Linked DNA regions of Homo sapiens: region 1 is linked to region 2. The links are contacts of gene promoters, found by promoter capture Hi-C in blood cells and fetal thymus (Javierre and others, 2016). All regions are on one chromosome and are shown on one strand. The core of a region is centred on a gene start or on the middle of the fragment in contact, and the rest is flanking DNA. Distances in the headings are between cores, read along the strand shown.

Region 1 (3,127 bases), core at 295-2,794, 160 kb before region 2:
AGTAGTACTGAAGTACAGAATGCAGATTCCAGCACCAGGAAAGCCCGAGTTCGAATCCTGCTTGCTGCTCTTGCTAGCTCTAACCCCAGGGCAAGTCAGCGTGCCTCTCCGAGCTTCAGTGTCCTCACTTGTACCACTAGAATAATAGTGATGTTGAACGAATCCCAGCCACGTCTCTTCAATCCCGCCAACGTCCAGAAATAATACCCACTCCCACTGCCGCCTTTGTCCAAGCTGCTACCCTCCCCTGCCTGGATTATTTCCGAGGCCTCCTCCCTTCTCTCTCCGCACCCACCCTTGCCTGCATTTTCCACATGGTGGATGGAGTGAGTCGCTCAAAACGTGAATCATCTCTTCTCTTTCCTTGGCTTGAAACTTGTCCATGATTTTTGCCATGGTCTTAGATTGAAATCAGACTTCTCACTGGGCCTAGAGGGCCAGGCTACTGCTCACAGCTTCCTATACCTTAGGGGGGCCCCTCTCTGCCCAACTCTATGCACTCCAGCTACACCTGCTGCTCCTGGGCCTCCGATGAGCCAGCCTCTTTCTCACCTCAGGGCATTTGCATGTGCAGTACCTGCAGCCTGCAATCCCTCCCCATCCCCCCCAGTGCTGCCACCTTCTCAGCAGGGCCCTCGCTGGCCCCACTGGCACCCCTGCCTCTAAAGCAGATCCACTTTCTCCTTCCTCCTTTTCCACAGGGCATTCAACATCATTTGCAAAGATAGTTATCTGCATATTTAATATCAGCCTCCTTCCTAGGACTAAAGCTCCGGGAGGGCAGGGACTCTTGTCTGTTTTGTTCACCTCCATAGCTCCAGCATCTAGGCCAGTGCCTGGTCCAAACCCAATAGACACTTTTTTTTTTTTTTTTGAGACAGGGTCTCACTCTGTACCTCAGGTTGGAGTGCAGTGGCACAATCTCGGCTCACTGCAACCTCCGCTTCCCAGGTTCAAGCGATTCTCCCACCTCAGCCTCCTGAGTAGCTAGGATTACAGGTGTTCACCACCACACCCGGCTAATTTTTGTATTACAGTAGAGATGGGGTTTTGCCATGTTAGCCAGGCTGGTCTCAAACTCCCGAACTCAAGTGATCTATCCACCTCGGCCTCCCAAAATGCTGGGCTTACAGGCATGAGCCACCCGCACCTGGCCTTAATAGACAATTTTTAAATGAATATTCACCTCACCAAGTTTCTCTGCCCACGGAATGACAATAATGAGTATGAAAAGATTTTGATAACTAAAGAATATTTCACATAAATAAAACAAAAAAATTATAATTCTGGAAGAATGGAAATATCTCACTTTAGGGTCCAGGGTGGGGAAGGAGAGATCAAGAACAGCAGCAAGAAAGGGAAGAAAGAAGTGAGGGTAGCAGGAAATTCCAGATGAAAGGGATGAAACCACTGGGTTCCCCCAAACAGGCTTGAGTGGGGGCACTGCTGTGGGAAAAGTGAGCACATCCTGATGTTTTAGGGCCTGGGAGAATTACCTGTATGTAAACCCATGCACATTTTGGGGCTGTGTTATTTCACTGTGTGAACCTCTCCTATGGCTCCCTGGTGGTGGGAGGTGGATCTGACCTGGCCAAGCCTCACCCATTCTACCACCCGCCTTGGATGACCTTAGACTGGCCTGAGCCACAGCCACGCTCCAGCTGGATGAAGCCATTTAAGGACAGGGAAGCTGTCTCTGCCTTCACTCAAGACAGGCCGCCACTGGCATTGAACCCAGTGCTATTTTTCAAGTCACATTTCTGAAGGAGGGTGTTGTTTTCTCCAGGAACCCTCAAGATGCCTACACGCTGCTTGCCAACAAGCCAGTAGCATGTACGCATTTATTCATTCAACAAACATGTAAGGAGCATCCCCTCTGTGCCAGGCACTGTTCCAGGCACTGGGGATCCAACAGTGGCCACCGCAAAGTCCCTGCCTGTGTGATGCTGACAGTCTAACATCCCAGCTTTCACGGATGAGGATGGGATTCTGGGCTGACATGGCATTGATCCAGTCCTGGGGGCCAGGCAGAATAGTACCAACAATAAAGATAACAATAACAGAAGCTGATCCTTTCCCACACTGACTAAGTGGTAGGCACTGAGCTAGGGGATTTAGAGGAATTATTCTCTGAGCCTCACAGCAGTCCTTCGAGAGAGATATTAGTACTTCCATTTTGCAGATGAGAAAACTGAGGCTAGGAGGGAATAGGTCAGTTGCCCCAGGTCTCAGGCTTGGGAAGCAACAGGGCTAGGATTTGCACCTGGGTCCTCCTAGCTCCAGAGCCCGTCCACTCTCTTTTAGTGCCTCTACAAGATGCCCCAATTTAAATCCCCTCTTCTCTGAGTCACTGAGCACCATCTAGACACAATATTCCTGTACATGCAGCCCCTAGTCCCTGAGCCCCACGCCTATTCCAGCTATGTATGATTAAAAGGTTTGAACTCTGCTCAATCCTCTGAAAGATTCAAGGACCCAGAACATACTGAGTGGTGATCCTGAACTTCTAGAACTGCACTGTCCAATACAGCAGCCACTAGCCTCCTGTAGTTATTTAAATTTAGTACTTCTACGTTAATTTAAATGAAATGCAATCACAAATTCAGTTCCTCGGTTGCACAAGCCATAGTCATGTGCTCAGTAACCACAACGGGTAGTGGCTACCGTACAGGATGGTTCAGATATATATCATCTACATGTTCTATGGGACAGTGCTGTTTTAGAACACCTGAGGATGTGCGATTTTGTTGTATGCCCCCCACCTGCCATTCATTTCTTCAAGCTCCAGTGGCTCCCAGAATTCCCAGCCCAAATTCTCATTGAAACCAGGGACCAAAAATGCAACCTCAAATATCAACAAAGACAATACTAAGCCCAGATACTGCTGGTGGGAATGCAACATGGTACAGCCACTTCAGAAAAACAGTTTGGCAGTTTCTTAATAAGTTAGACATAAATGTATCTTATGACCCAGCAATTCCACTCCTCTACCCAAGAGAATCGAAAACATGTGTTCAAAGATCTGCGTGCAAACTTTCACAGCAGTGCTATTCACAACAGCCAAAAAGTACAAACAACCCACATGCCCATCAACCGATGAACGGATAAAACGTGGTCTATCCATACA
Region 2 (3,134 bases), core at 177-2,676:
CTGATGATCTCGCGTCTTCCGCGAATGTCACGGTCAAGGCAGGATGCTCTAACCGCCCTGTTATCCGCACCATTTTCCCGCCCCTGATCCCCGCCGCACCCGCCGAGACTTTGCGAGACTCCAAGGCTGGGGGGCCTTGCCAGGCGCGTCCGGGGCACTCCGGGAAAGAACAGAGGCCGGAGCCGCGCCTCCACGGTGCGTTCTCTGAGATTCCACCTCCCAGCCCCGGCTCCTACGGGGTCCGCAGAGAACACCTCCAAATCTAGGGGAGGCACACAGACTCCCACAAAGGGAGGATGGGGAGAAAGTGATGGGGTTTCGAAGAGTCGCCCTAGGGAAGGAGAGAGAAAGAGCAGGGAAGAGAGGAAAGAAACAGAAGAAAAGCAGAGACGGGAGAGAGGAGACGAGGGGAGCAGCGGGGAGAAACGCAGGAGGCAGAACAAGCAAGGAAATCTCTCATTTAAAAGTTCCCTTGGGCCCGAGGGCTGGGAGTCACCTGCTCTGCGCCGCTCCCGGCTCTCCACCGCCCTGGAGGCAGGAGCGCAAACTTGCGAGCGCCCGGGCCCACCTCCACCGCCCGTCTGCATCTAGACTTGGGAAGGGGATGGAAGGGGCGGGGGGGTAAAGGCAAGAAGCAAGACGAACCCCAAGACCCCGGCCCGAGGAGAAGAGGTCTGCCGGCGCTTGCGGCCAGTCCGGCGGCGGCGGCTCTGGCGGCGGCGGCGGCGGCCCCCGGGTGGCGGCGCGTCCGGGCTGCGCAGCCAGGCGGGCGGCGAAGGCTGAGGTGCCGGCGAGCGGCGGGGCGCGGAGCCGCCTCCTCGCCAACCCCGGCTCCCTCCTCCTCTCTCCTCCTCCTCCTCCTCTCCTCCTCCTCCTCCCTGCCCGCCAGCTCCCTCCCTCCCTCGCCGGAGCCCCAGCCGGGTGCGGACTGGCAAGCGGCGCGCTCCGCGGCCTCCCCGGGCGCCGCGAAGTTGGGAGGCGCGCAAAGTGCGGCTCAGGGGGGACCGCCGGGGGTTCCCGCCAGCAGCCCCCTGCCCGAGGCCGTAGCCCCTGCCTTCCCCGCTCCTCGCCCGGCCGCCTGGCCGCTCGGCCGCTCCGCCGACCGAGGGCTCACTAGCGCTTCTCCATGGTCGCGGCAGCTAATCGATGACTGAACCGAACAAAGAGCAGCGGCGAGATCAATTCCTAATACCTATCGATGGGCAGCGGGCGGCCGAGCCCCGGCGAGCCCCGGCAGCCGCCGCCCGCCGCCCCAGGGCGTCCGCCTGCCCGCCCGGGGACCTCCCCAATGCGCCCAGGGCGCGCCCGGGGGCTCCTCACGGCCGCGCGGCCGGCGCTGCCCGCACTAACCTGGAGTCGCCGTAGATCAAATCGCTTCCAATATTGAAACATCGATCCCACATTGGCGGCCATCTTGGGGGCTATCGAGACGCGCACACACAAGAGTTTGGCTTTTCTCAATGGCTGCACTCAATATCCGGGCTGGACTCCCCCCAGCCCCGGGGCCGCCGCCGGCCGCCCGGGCCCTGAGCGCCGCGGCCCGGGGCCCCTCGGGCGCCCTCCGGCCTCCTGCCACCCGCTGCCCCTCGCCGCCGCCGCGCCGCCGCCGCCGCCGCCGCCAACGGGCCCGGGAGCCGTGCGCCCCCCCGACCCCCGGAGGGCGCGGGCGGAGCGCGCCGGGCGGGGAGCTCGGCGCCCGCCCGGGGGAGGCAGCCGGGGATGGGGTGGGAGGGGAGGGGTTGGGGGGAGGCAGCCTCTCCGAGAGGCGCCGGCGCCGCCGCTGCCCTGCCTGCCGCCGGCTCCCGGGCCCGCGGAGCGCTCGCTGCATCTCCCCCCCAAGTCCGGGGTCGGTGTGCCGCGCGATTGCACTTGACTTTGGCTTTTTGCAAACTTATCAATACTGACGTAACGTGCTGATCAATGCAAAGGGAAGTTTGGGAGGGGGCGCTGCGGGAGGCGGGCGCGCGGGGCGCCTACCCCCGCTTGCACCTGTCTACCCCCAGCTCCCGGCATTGCACGCTTAAAAAAAAGTTAATAGTTTGAAATGCATTTTTTTTTCTTTTGCAATCGGAGCACACACAACACGTGCCTCGGGCTGCCGCCGCTCCATCGCCAGATATGCTTGGGATCCGAGGGTCGCAGCCAGCACTTGGGGCTGCGTAGACGCGCCGGCCGGAGGGAGGGTGGGAGCCGCCCGGGGGCGCCACTGAGTCGTGGGAAATGTCACCACCACCGCCCACAGTTTCCGCGCCATTATATTATTATTATTGGCGGGGAGGGGGGCTTCGTCTGAGTAGTAGCTCAGGGTTCTTTACGGGCGGGGGCCGAGGGCGGGGCCTCAGGTCCTTTGGAATAGGGATTTCTGTTGTTATTATCTGGGGGGTCTTTAACCCAATTATAGGGACTCCCCCACAGCTTTGCAAGGTGAAACCCTTTTACTGTGATGATGATTATTGGAGGTTTTGTTATTTGGTTCTGAACCAAACCTCTGGAGGGCCTTTTCCCCCAGTGGGCTTGTTTTATTGTTATGACTGTTGAGGGTGCCCTACCCCTGCTGTGGGGGCTCCGGATCCTTAAAAACCTCGGAGGTTTCTGCTGTTGTTATCATCATTATTATCCGGGGCTCCGTTCTTTGCAACATGACATTCCTTTATTGTGATTGTCTTTGGGGAGAGGGTCTTCAGCATGGCTAGAGGGAGGTTCCGGTCCTTTGCAATTCTTCGGACTCTTGACAACCGGGGTGACTGGATTTCTTGTTTTACATTTTTCTGTCTGCTTTTTTGTTTGTTTGTTTGTTTGTTTGTTTGTTTGTTTTTGCCTCTGTGCAAGCTCGAGGTCCTCTGTTTCCACTTCCCCTGGAGGTGAGATGTCACCTCCAGGGGGAACTCATACTCCCAGCCCCCTCCATCACCAACCCCCTTGCCTATCCCTGCCACCACCCTTAAAGGTGAGGTCACCCTTCCTCTCTGGCTTATTCCCCTGATACATAGCACCGCACCCTCTTCCCCACTCAAAAAAAGGGGACATGTTTTTCCTTTTTCTCTGATCAAAAGATTTGCTTTTATGGACAGCAAATGGAAATTATATTCTTTTTATGACCCAGCCTAGACTTCTGACATCACTCTTGGTCTGGG

The links. Contacts are between HindIII fragments. The CHiCAGO score rates a contact against its expected background, and 5 or more counts as called.
Region 1: a contact is called between a fragment that was not itself captured here and the fragment with the promoter of CUX2 in region 2, in 1 of 17 cell types (M1 macrophages). The highest score is 5.1, in M1 macrophages.

What each region holds. Positions count from the first base shown.
Region 1 is chr12:111,196,222-111,199,348 of GRCh38, reverse strand. The region is part of intron 1 of CUX2 (cut like homeobox 2); the gene reads right to left. It overlaps LOC124903018 (a long non-coding RNA gene), which reads right to left. Exons shown (of 2, transcript XR_007063461.1): 2 at 1-3,127. Among named protein-coding and RNA genes, the nearest start is that of MIR6760, 110 kb to the left of the region's middle. The HindIII fragment of the contact is 4,568 bases long and covers 1-3,127 here.
Region 2 is chr12:111,032,457-111,035,590 of GRCh38, reverse strand. It overlaps CUX2 (cut like homeobox 2), which reads right to left and starts at 1,426. Exons shown (of 22, transcript NM_015267.4): 1 at 1,351-1,426. The coding sequence starts at 1,413. The HindIII fragment of the contact is 8,699 bases long and covers 1-3,134 here.